Linked DNA regions of Homo sapiens: all the other regions are linked to region 3. The links are contacts of gene promoters, found by promoter capture Hi-C in blood cells and fetal thymus (Javierre and others, 2016). All regions are on one chromosome and are shown on one strand. Each heading gives the region's core, a stretch centred on a gene start or on the middle of the fragment in contact. The rest is flanking DNA. Distances are from core to core; before and after follow the strand shown.

Region 1 (3,833 bases), core at 421-2,920, 440 kb after region 3:
AGCGCACAGCCCCTGGGGCGAGGAAAGTGAGAGGGGACACGGGGTCAGGCTGGTGGGGTCTCATCCTGGTCAGCAGCCTGCTAGCTGGGCGAACTTGGGCAGTGACAGGACCTCGCTGTGCCTCCTTCATCTGCACCAAAGGGGTGATAACTGTATTACCTCCGCGCGGGGAGGTTGTGAGGATCAAATGAGCTCATGCAAGTAAAGTGATTAGCAGGTTGCCTGTTCCCGATGTTCAATAAATACCCAGTGTGTGCTAATCACCGCAGAAGGAAACCCCTGCTTGCAGTCATTAATCTGCACTTAAAGAAAGCTTCGTCCCACTCCCCACCTTTTCCCATCCCCAGTCTTGTTTTGAGTGAGTCTTTTTACACCCAATATGGATGAGCAAATGGATTCATTCTCAGGATTCAGAGGTTGTTTCGGCGATTACTGGTGACATAGAGGAATGCAGCCTAGGCTGGTGGCATTGATGATGTATTTGGAAAAAACATTGCAGCTCGGGAGAAGGCAGAATACTGAGTCTCAGATTACATTTTTTTTTTCCTCCAAAATTCTGTTTGCTGAAGGGATGAGGGAAAATAATAGTCCAGCAGACTGCAGCCCTCTGAATGTAAATCTATCAGCAGCTCCAAGAGGTTGACTAATTCGCCATCCATCTGGACTACAGACTGGTCCTCGGTGGAAATAATTTGCAGACTGTAAGTGTGGAATTAATGGAGTTGCCATCTTGGCTTGCAGACGGCAGCAGATGGTCAGAGGGGTGCCCTGTAAGGCAGCAGCCCCTCTAATCGAAGAACTAAAGTCCTGGGGAACCAGTGTCAAATGGTTAGCAGATGTGTGCACAAAAGTTATTTTGAGACATTTTCTGAGAAAATGTTGGCGATTGCATGTATTCACATTTCTTGTGGCATGCCAGATTTACAGCGTGGCCTGAGCGCAGATGCATACTTTTTGCATTAGTACTACTGTTCAGAGTTTAAAATGAAGCACAGCAGACTGAGTTTCTCTCCTGGCTGTTTTGAAAAGTTTGCTTTTGACAAATACTTATTTTATTTTAATTTACACAGAGTAGCACCAGACACCAAACAGCCTGGAAGTTCAAAAAGGGGACTGGGGATAAATAGTTTCCAACTTAAATCTTTCCCTGGAGTGGGTGAGAAAAGTGGTTTTGGTGACTTATGTCATAACTTCCCAATTGCAGATTTCATGAGAAACACCACTCATTCCTTAAACAGTGAATAGATGAGCAATTAACTATTGCTAACTATGAAGGCAGTGTTTCAAATTTTAATGCACTGGAAAGATTGAAGGATTTTCTTAGGGCTCTGGAGTAAAGGTGAAAGGCAGGTTACCCTTCAACCTAAAGCCCTTGTTTGCATGTTTTTTTGTTGTTCTGTACTGTAGTTGAGAGAGCAAAGACTAAGCAAAGTTTAGAGCATTTCTACATTAAAAGAGGTGTTTGGGTGCTTCTGGAAAATATACCAGACCAGTAGAAAGACATGTTGTGATTCAACAAGCTATTACTGTGAAGTGAGTTTAAAAATGTATATAGTACTTAAACTCTTATTTGTAGAACTATTATGGGACTTAAAGGGGATATGGGAGGCCACAGTTGAGATGCCTTCCAATCAGAGGCTTGGTGAGATTCCAAGAGGTGGTTTCAAATACAGCAATAAGTACTTGGGTTTCCCTTGGTGTCCCCATGGAGATTTTAAGCCATGACGCAATGTTTAAATCAGAGTGGTATTTTTATGACTTAAGCGGGTAAATATGCAATTGGAAAATATTCAGGGAAGGGTGATTTGGTCCAGAAGAGTGGGGGCATCCAGAGTACAGTGGGTGAAATGGATCGGACTTTTTGGAAGAGAGCCTTGTGCTGGACAGGATGGTCCAGTATTGTCAACACAAGTTTCTCATGCTTCACTCTCCTTCCTAGCAACAGGAAGACGGAAATGAGGCCATGCAAAAATAAAAGACCCTGAAAGACTCCAGACAATACCTGATCCACCCTACCATTCACCCTGTATAGCCAGAAGACTTTTACAAAAGTAAAAATAACTTCAGATGTTTCCCCTTCCTCCCTGGCTATTGCCAAATCATTAAAGACCGAATTCTCAGTGCTTTACAACATCATAGCAAAACCTGGCCCCATGGTGTGACTCGCATCCAGACCCACATCATGCCAAGCCTGTTCTTGAGATTATAAAGCAGACCTGGGGAGAAAGGTGATTTTCATTTGTAATGTGTGCACAGTCCAATGATTTGAATTACATGAGTTGGGATCTAGTGGGAGAGAACTAATTTCTTTAGTGTCTAGACAGTTGTATCTCTGACTTTTCTCAGAATGCTCATTTTATCAGGATCTGCTCCTGAAATTCTTAGTTTGGAGCTGTGGGGCTCTAATGCAAAGGAGTAATCTGTACGTCATTCAAGACACTAAAAAATACGTTCCTTCATGTTGCAGTCTGGGTGAACTAATGCCCAACCATAGAGTGTAAATATCCAGTGTGTCCTAGAAAGCACAATTCCAAGATCCTCTTTTCCATGGCTATGAAATTAGAAGGAACATGCTTTTCTGGAGCACTTTCACAACTGTCTCTATTTCTGACTCTGTGGCCTTTGCATATGGATGAATGCAGAGGGAGGTGAAGGCTGTTCCTCTTTGAAGGAAGACAGTGCTGTAGGGTTGAAGTATGTTTTATAGGAATGAGTTACTGCGTTGAATGAGCGCCATCAGCGGTGTTTTCTTTCAGCTTCAAATTAGTTAGAGATCCAGTTAATGTAAAAGGGTTTAGATTCCCAGCTGAGAAGGGCTCCTTCTGTCCTCTGGCCCTTTTCCTTCTGTGGGACCTTGTGTTATTAGGGATTACCATGATCAGTGATAAGAACTGCGGAGTCCTCCTGGGGATCCTCTAATTAGGTCTACTCTGTCTTAACGTTTTGTTCACTTGCCATCATAATTAATGTTCTGCCTTGCCATCATAATTAATGGAGAACAGGAAGAAAGCCTTCACATTAAGCTTATATATTTTCTTTTTTCTCTTTTTTTTTTTTGAGACGGAGTCTCTCTCTGTCGCCCAGGCTGGAGTGCAGTGGCGCAATCTTGGCTCACTGCAAGCTCCGCCTCCCGGGTTCACGCCATTCTCCTGCCCCAGCCTCCCGAGTAGCTGGGACTACAGTAGGCGCCGCCACAATGCCCAGCTAATTTTTTGGTATTTTTAGTAGAAACAGGGTTTCATCGTGTTAGCCAGGATGGTCTGGATCTCCTGACCTCGTGATCCGCCCGCCTCGGCCTCCCAAAGTGCTGGGATTACAGGCGTGAGCCACCGCGTCCAGCAAGCCCATATGTTTTCTTAGTGTCTCCCAGGCAGCAACGAGACTTCTCTATTGTGGCCCTTACGGAGCCTTATAGTTACTTTGTAATTTCCTGGGAGGCTTGTGTGCGTAGGTAGGCAGCTGTAATGTTAGAGTGCAGGAATGACAAATTTTTTGTGAGTCCCCTCCATGGGGGGAGTCTAGTGAGAGGAGACTTGGGGCTCTGTCTTTAACATTTGGGGGAGTGTTCTGGGATACCATTTTCTAAAACTCTGGCCCGCGTTGACTGTACGAAATAATGTTTTCTTCAGTGAAAGTACTTTCAAATATTATTTCTAAAGGAAACTTTTCTCCCAAATGTGACTGAAAATATGTGAATGCCTGCCTATAAGGAAATAAAGTTTTGAGCACCAAAAAGTGAACTATTACATCCTTCTAAAGTGAAGCCAAGACACAGTGGAAATCAGTTTCTCTTAATCATTCATCAGCCTTGGGGTTTTTTGGTTGTTGTTTTT
Region 2 (4,221 bases), core at 1,051-3,550, 290 kb after region 3:
TACATTACCAAAGCAGGATGATTTTCTTATATGGAAAATATTAGGGACTTACTTAAACCAGAATCTCTAGCTTAGGATACAGACTAGAACCTCTGTTCTCCAGGGATCTGGAAGAGTTTACACAGCTTCCCTGGTCAAACAGCACCTCCACCAATGGCTGAAACTAACCCTTTATCACAGAAATAAGAAACTGCAAACCTATCAAAGCATAATGTCATTATTCTCATTTTTCTTTTTTTTTTTTTTTTTTTTTTTGAGATGGAGTCTCTCTCCGTTGCCCAGGCTGGAGTGCAGTGGTGCGATCTCGGCTCACTGTAAACTCCGCCTCCTGGGTTCATGCCATTCTCCTGCCTCAGCCTCCTGAGTAGCTGGGACTATAGGTACCTGCCACCACGCCCGGCTAATTTTTTTTTTTTTTGTATTTTTAGTAGAGACGGGGGTTTCACTGTGTTAGCCAGGATGGTCTCGATCTCCCGACCTCATGATCCATGCACCTCGGCCTCCCAAAGTGCTGGGATTACAGGTGTGAGCCACCGCACCCAGCCTATTCTCACTTTTCTTGTGATTCCCAGTGGGATCTTGAAAAACCAATGAACTCATATTTCCACTTGTTCTACCTGCTAAGCTGAGACAACACTAATTATCACAAACTATTCTCACCTCTCAGAGTCATAGAAAACTGGGATAGTTTGAAGTTTGTGGAAATACAACTTGAGAAATTATTGTCTAAGTGGCAGATTCTAAGCAGCACCTTTTCTGTGTCTATCATTTCTAGTGGCCTACAAAGAAAGCAAAATGTAAGAATAATTTAAAACTGGTTGTGTATTAGAATGGTCTTTACACTATACCCATAAAATGTAGCTGAGATTTATCCATAAGGGGTTGAAATACCCTCACAGTGAAATTTGGACTTAATGAGTTGTCAGAAATGAGAGGCCAAATTGTCAGCTCTACGTTGGCCTATGGTAAAACCTATAATTAAAGTTTGCCTTGCTCAAAAATGCTTAGCTGCACTTCCCCTCCTGAAATACTCTGCCAAGAAAATTTACATTTATGCCATGAGGTTTCCTTTGAAAAAGACAAACAAAACATAAAGTCCTCTTAAGTAGGTGAAGTCTGTGGGTCATTCTACCTAATGCAACCTGCACTAGGAATAGGCAGGTGTTTCTAACACCTACTGAAATGAGCTTCACTGAAGAACTGTTAAGTATTGTCCTAGAGAAAGTGTGTTGCTAAGAGGAGGAGGGTTGTTTTATAACACTTTGGTGATTAGACCTGAGTGCTCTACTGTTAAACAGTGTGTGTTGAACCAGACCTTGGTTCTCTTGGCTCATTGCCTTTAATTTCCATAGTCGGGATCACCTCAAATCTATCTGCAGACTCAGGATTCTGCCACACCCTAGGTCCTGTTCGTTATTTTATTTTGGCTAAGATTAAAGAGCATTAGCTCATAGCTTAGTATCGACTGAGCCTAGATAACACTAATGGGTCACTGTCGTTACTATGGTCATTAATTTAAGACCAACCAAGTTGATTAGGAAGCTAATGAGTTTTTGAGGCAGACGGCTCCGAGTATGAATCCTGGATCTGCCACTTACTATGTAAGCTTTTCGAATTTTTTCTTTCTAAGCTTCAAGTTTCCTCATCTCTAAAAAAGTGATAATAATACCTATACATGATCTCTGATGACTTGCTAGTCTATATACAACACTAGACGACTTTATCATACATTATAGGGACTTAATGAATGCTTATTTCCCTTTACTGCTCCCCTTCCTTTCTGTGTTTAGGTGTAGAAAAGCTTCCTACCATTATAGTCAGTCACTTTGCACGACTCAGACAATCAGCTGTTGATATTCATGCTGGGAGTGACTGTGTGTCCCTAACTTTATCATAGATCTAGACTGGAAACTCAGGTGAGATCAGTGCCTAGGAGGAGTTAGGAATCCAGGCTGCATTTTCCTTTGTGTTCCTGTAACATTGGAACATGCTTCTACCTTGAAACTTATCACATTATTTTGGAATCACTTTTGGTCGATGTGATATTTCCTCCTCGAAGACAGAGTTGAGGTCTTATTCATCCTAAAGTTCCGCAGGCCTAAAACAGCATCTGGTGAAGGGCACTACCCATGCCATGGGTACTTCATGCCATTCCTCTGCAAAACAGGTCCAGATGACATGATTCAACACGCTTCAAGGTGCCCAGACCTCTTTGAAGGAGAAACACACACAAACTCTGGGGACATTGTTTTAGAATGGAACCAGGCATTAGGCAATCATATTTTCTGAAAATCTTTAATAGAGGATTTTCATTTGGAATTGGCCCGTGCAGGCACGGAGGTCTGTCTACATCAGCAGTTAGCATGCATTCTCTCCTAATCTGTGTCCAGTCCAATGATAAGGCAAAGACGTGGATATCTACCATGAAGTACATGCTCAATGGGGGACATTCATGAGCTTTAACAGTTTGGGAACAATACAGTTTAGGACATACGGGTTATTAATAAGCATTGGTACTAATGTTAGTTATAATTCATGAGCACAATCTCACTATTTTCATAATCATCCTTTGTATAATTAAGTTGTTAAAGATATATGTGAAAATAATGCGTGTTGTAGAAATTAGAAGACTCAGGAGATCAGTGTGGGTTGAAAATGACTTTGTGTGTAAAAATAATTATGGTAATAATTAGCATTTGCATGGCTTCTTGAAATTTACAAAGTGTTTTTACAACATTATCTCATCTTGCAAAGGTTATGAACTGGCCTTTAGATGTCTTATGCCAATATTAAGCTTCCCTGCCAAACCTTGTGCATTATAAGGTAAGATTTGCTAGACAGAAAAAAAAAGAGGATTAATAATGCATTTAAAAGGCAAAAAATCTGCCAAATTTATTGGCGTAGAAATAGATTTATTTGGCATTTTAGAAACTAAGGCGCATATCTTGTAAAAGAAGCAGTTGGCTCATATTTTGATTTCATAGTGCTTGGAACTTTTTTTACATTTTGGGGGATGAGTTTTTGATGTGCAATTGTAATGAGGAAGTTCACTTACTTGGAACTAGAAGATTCATAAAATCAGGGGATATTTGAAACTTTTTAAGGGGCAAAACCTAGAGTGACTTGATTAAACCACTGTAAGTAGAAGTATGGTTAGAGAGAAAATGTGAGGAGCTGATCAGTATTTTGTTTAAAACTCAGGTGTCCATTTCCTTATTTTATTTATTTTAGAGACAGGGTCTTGCTCTGTCCCCCAGGCTGGAGAGCAGTGGGGGTGACCACAGGTCACTGCAGCCTGGAACTCCTGGGCTCAAGCGATTTTTCCCTCTCAGCCTCCCAAGCAGCTGGGACCACAGGTGCATGCCACCACACCCGCCTAATTTCTTGTAGGGGTGGGGTCTTGTTTGTTGCCCAAGCTGTTCTCAAGCTCCTGGCCTCAAGTGATCCTCCAGCCTCAGCCTTTCCAGGTGCTGGGAACAGGCGTGAGCCACAGTGCTGGCCTCTCAGGTCTCCATTTCTTAGAGGGAATCCAGATTGATCTGTAAAGTGCTCCTTCCAGCCATATCTTCCTTCCCACAACCACAACTAAAGGTTGAACTTCCTATCTCATCAACCGCCTAATCTAAAACCATGAGTTAATGAGATAAAAATGAGTCACTAAAATGCAAACGTTCTTGAGAATCAACCTTGAAAGTTAAAGACAAGGCCACCTGCCAGCCCCACCCTCCCACCTCCCCTGCGTGCTTGCCTGCGGCGCTGCGTTTCCCTTTGAAAACGCGAGGTCACCTGGACTGCCCCTGAAGGGAAGACCTGCTATGTGACCCAGGAGCAGCCCGGCGCGGACCCAGGTGAGTCATTGGGTTGCACAGGAAGCGAGACGCCTCCGGATAGCTGTGCTGCAGCTCGCGCGCCCCGCGAGGGTGTCGCCGGCGCAGGGTAAGTCTTTCCAGATGTGGCCGCCGCGCGCGCTTGGCCGCGGGCCAGGAGGCCGCCTGCAGTTGGCGCTTCCCGGGGCCGCAGTGCCAGCCGCAATGCCGGCCTCCTGAAGGCAGGCGACAGCCTGCGGCCGGGAGCACAGCGCGGGGCGGAGTACCGAGGCATGGTCGCGGCGCCCGGGCTGCGCTGAAGGCGTCTGCGAGCGGATGGGGGACCCCAAGGCCCACGTGATGGCGCGCCCCCTGCGAGCCCCTCTCCGGAGGTCCTTTAGCGATCACATCAGGG
Region 3 (4,030 bases), core at 1,491-3,990:
AAGATGACTCAGATTTCTAGCTTGGTTGACTAAAAGGGTGGAGCATGCCCTTTAATGGGGGAATTCTAAAGGGAAAATTATTCAGAATTTTGATTATGTAAAACATGAATATATTGAGATGTCAAAGATAAAGCATGACATAATATGGATTTCAAATAAAAGGTTATTATGAAAATGGTAATGGTTATTTTCCATTTAGAATGACTTACTAAGGGGAAATATGCTAAATTTTATGGGGGAAAAAAATAGTATCTTTATACATAAATGAAGGTCTTAACGCAAAGAGTAATACTGAAGTACAATACTAAAACTCTTCTGTGCTGATTTTTGCAAACAAATTTCTTTTTCACTGAGATAATTCAGGTGTTGGACATGTAGAAAAGTGATCTCCAGGTAATGCCACTAATTCCATGGTTTTATATTTTTATAGAGGAAATAGATAATAAATGGCTTCTCAGAATGCCATCTAACATTTTTCTCCATAAATGTGTTTTCAAAATGCCATGGTATTCCTTGTGGAATAATACTGTTTCCTCATTACATAAATTTGGATGAACAACAGAAGGTTCATAAAATCTTCACGACCAAAATGGCTATCTAGATAATTTGTTTAAGCGTTCTTCTCTCAAAACTCAACACCTAACCCCAGCTTTACTTCTTCTTCCCCTTACAGCTAAATATTTCAAGGAGTACCCTATATCCATTCATTATTTACTTACATTTTTCCTCAATCTATTTTGTCTGCCCCATTTGTATAAGTGAAATGGCTTTTGCTAAGGTCAGCAGTGCCCAATACATGACTAAATCATCTTTACATGGCTTCTCTGTTGATTGATGTGGTTAGACAACTATCCTTCTTTAAATATTCATTCCTTAGCATCTATGACACTATACATTCCTGATTTCCTTGATCCACTTGATAACTTTTTTCACAATCTTTTCTGCAGGTTTATTTTTCTCTACTTAGCCATTAATTGGCATTTCTCAAGAGTTTGTATCAACCCTGCTTCTCTTCTTATTCATTTCCAAAAACGCTTGACAATCTACGGCTTCAACTTCCAGCTATATGCCATTGATCCCCACCCTTCCCCCAGTCCTACCCCAATTTATTTTGCACCTCTAGGCTATACCTTTCCTCTGAAGCGCAAAAACAAATAATCAAATGTTTCTTCAAACTGTCAATGTGTATGTCCCAAATGCACCTTATATGTCCAAATAATCATACTCTTCAACAGTTCCATCAAACATAGTCCTCTTCTGGTGTTCCTGTCTTAATGAAATTAATGATCATTCATCCGGGCGCACAAGTCAGAGCCTTAATAACATTTCAAACATCTACTATTTATTAATTCCCCATAGCCATTTGATCGCCAAAGACAGTTATTACTTTTTAAGTTTCTCTTACATCCCCATACTACTTTGCTTCTGTACCATCAACATCCTGGCCCAAACTACCAACATAGTTCTCTTGGAATTTTGTAAAAGTTTTTATAACTATTCCAACTACAACAGTGCCTTCTATAATAGGAAAAAAAAAGTGAAAGTTCTTAGTCCTCAAATCTGTGAAGGAAGCATAGTAAAGTCTTAAGTTAGTTTCCCAAGTGCCTGTAGAAATTATGGTAATTACTCAAATACACAACAAAGACATCTATCCACATTACACATTATCATTAACAATCACCAGCTCTGGTTTGATTAGAGTAAGTCGCTTGAGAAATGGCAGAGAAAATGGTAAATGACAAGCACTATTTCCATCTCGCTGCAACTTCTGCTCTGTCTCTGATCTTTCAAAACCAGAGTATCTGATATGACTTTTCTCAGTCAGTCTTTTCCAGATTATTCTGGGGTCATCTGAAAGCCTGGGAAAGTCTTGATGTGCTTCTCCAATACGGGTGAGAAAGTCTTTGGTATGAAGATGTTCATCTATTCTCTCTTGGAGTAGAAATGACTCCAGTAAAGTCTTCTTTTGTTTCAGAAAGGCAGACAGGGCCAGCTCCGCTCTTTTCCTGTTACAATAGGGACACTGATAAGATATGTGTTGCTTAGCTGCTGCCTCCTGTTTTGGCGTTGTCCTCATGTTTTTAAAGTAGATTCTGTTCAAAAGTTCATCGGGTACAGTACAACTAAAGGCATCTCTCTCTGAAGCCTCTACATCCAATCCAAGATGCAGCTTTTTATGTCTGCTGCTCGTCTTCTTCTTAGAATCCCCTCTACGATGAATCAAATTTATCTTCATGGTGCAATAAGACTGCAGGGCATTCAATTCTTCATCTGATACCCGAGTGATTTCTGTTGGAAGTTTGGTGTCTGGTTGGTGCCGTTCAAAGTTAGAGTCTTTGAGCTTGAGGTAGTTGATCCATTTTTTACTCAACTTCTTTTCATAATTTTTATAGTCCAAAAGCTCAGATTGTGTGTCTCCTTGTTCCAAGCTTGGAGTCTGCTTTTCCCTCTCCAGTTTGCTCCCAGAGGTCAGGGGCGAGGACTGCCGTCCTCCAGAGGAGCTGAATGAGCTGGAAGTCTGTACCTCATCAGTAGAGTTCTTCAAAGTCTCAGTCTCATCAGAAAGGTTTGCAAGAGCACTTTTGTCCGTTTGGGCCAATTCTGGGCAGATGGCCATCACAATGCATCAGGCTCGGCTCCTCATCTCCTTTGCCCAGGTTAAGACTGGCTCAGGAACCCGTCAGGAGCTGACCCCTCCGGGAATGGATCTCAATGCCATCAGCTCTGCGGAGGTCGTCTTCCGGGAGACGCCTTCCCAGCTGTCTTGGCAACGCGGGCCGCTCATGCGCAGTGACTGGCCACCATGCGGCGTCCCGCCTTTTCCTCCGCGCTCCCCAGCGCCCACTGCGCTTGCGCTGCTTGCGCCGGGTTGGCGATTTTGCCCTGTCTTCTGCACTCCTGCTTCTCTTTGGTGCTAAAGTCGAGTAGTCAACGGGAAAACCTTGCAAACTCTGTTTCCCAGGGGTCAGACAGGTGGCACACGTGTGTGAGACCAATAGAGTTAGGTGGCCTGTGACAAATCCGAACGTGTACGCCCGCCTAAATGCATCTAGATTTAAAAATCAAGCAAAACGCGCTGGACAAGATGCACAAGCAAAAACTTGTCTGCAGTGTTTATAGCCAAGAGACACCTCCTTGTAGAGCATGTCTTTGGGGAAAAGTCAAAATACAGAAACCATTCTGTAAGAAGTAGTGTTCTGTGCTCCAGCATTCTGAGGACCTCGAAGTTTGGGCGGGGTCGGGGGTGGGGAGCAGGGGCGGGGGAGGACCTTAATTTTCCAAATCAGTTTCTCTGGCCTTTTGTCCATACAGGTCCCCTCTGGCTAGCATATCCACGCCCGTCCTCACTCTTAATATCGTTAATTTATCCTCCTCCTCCGAGTCCCATTTCCTCAGGAAGGGCTTAATACCCACCCCTGCCTTAAACTCTTTCCAGCATTTTTTTTTAAATAGTGTCCAACTATGTGATTGTATGAGTATCTGATTATGAAGGCTGAAGGCAGAAATCATGTCGGTGTTGCCGACTAGTATGAGCCCAGCAATCAGCAGACACATAGCAGGTGTTCAAGAAATCTCTGTTGAGTGAATGGCTATGGAACAAATAAATCTTACCTTACACACGTCCAGAGGATTTGGAGAAATAAGTACTATAAGTTCAGGGAACTCTAACCTTTTTTCTAACTGAATCCCCAAACTTAGGCTATTACACAGGATATATTTTTTATTAATGGATTCATTTAAAAAACACAGTAGAGTTTTATTAATTATCGTGAGAAATTATAAAATGTTAACTCTAGAGATGGACTTTTCCTAGGTTATAATAGTTCTTGAGTCTAGGACTTAGTCAATGTCTAGGATAATTTTAAGAGCCTAGACACCCTTCTTTCTCAGTTTTGTCTCTCTCTCTCTTTCTTCCTGTGTTTCTTGGGGATTGGGGGGTATTATTCAGGTCTAGCCAGATATATTCCCCAAATGTTCATTCTGGCAAAAAGTGAAAGTCAAATATTCAAAAAGCATCTCTCAAGTATAT

The links. Contacts are between HindIII fragments. The CHiCAGO score rates a contact against its expected background, and 5 or more counts as called.
Region 1: a fragment that was not itself captured here is called in contact with the fragment with the promoter of C8orf48 in region 3 in 1 of 17 cell types (endothelial precursors); the score reaches 5.2 in endothelial precursors.
Region 2: a fragment that was not itself captured here is called in contact with the fragment with the promoter of C8orf48 in region 3 in 1 of 17 cell types (endothelial precursors); the score reaches 5.9 in endothelial precursors.

Annotation. Positions count from the first base shown.
Region 1 is chr8:13,128,059-13,131,891 of GRCh38, reverse strand. The region is part of intron 5 of DLC1 (DLC1 Rho GTPase activating protein); the gene reads left to right. Among named protein-coding and RNA genes, the nearest start is that of TRMT9B, 180 kb to the right of the region's middle. The HindIII fragment of the contact is 2,710 bases long and covers 316-3,025 here.
Region 2 is chr8:13,276,322-13,280,542 of GRCh38, reverse strand. All of the region lies in intron 5 of DLC1 (DLC1 Rho GTPase activating protein), which reads left to right. Among named protein-coding and RNA genes, the nearest start is that of DLC1, 240 kb to the left of the region's middle. The HindIII fragment of the contact is 993 bases long and covers 1,804-2,796 here.
Region 3 is chr8:13,565,579-13,569,608 of GRCh38, reverse strand. C8orf48 (chromosome 8 open reading frame 48) reads right to left here and starts at 2,740. Exons shown (of 1, transcript NM_001007090.3): 1 at 1,321-2,740. The coding sequence starts at 2,617. The coding sequence ends at 1,658. It also overlaps a transcript of DLC1 not described here. The HindIII fragment of the contact is 14,151 bases long and covers 2,432-4,030 here.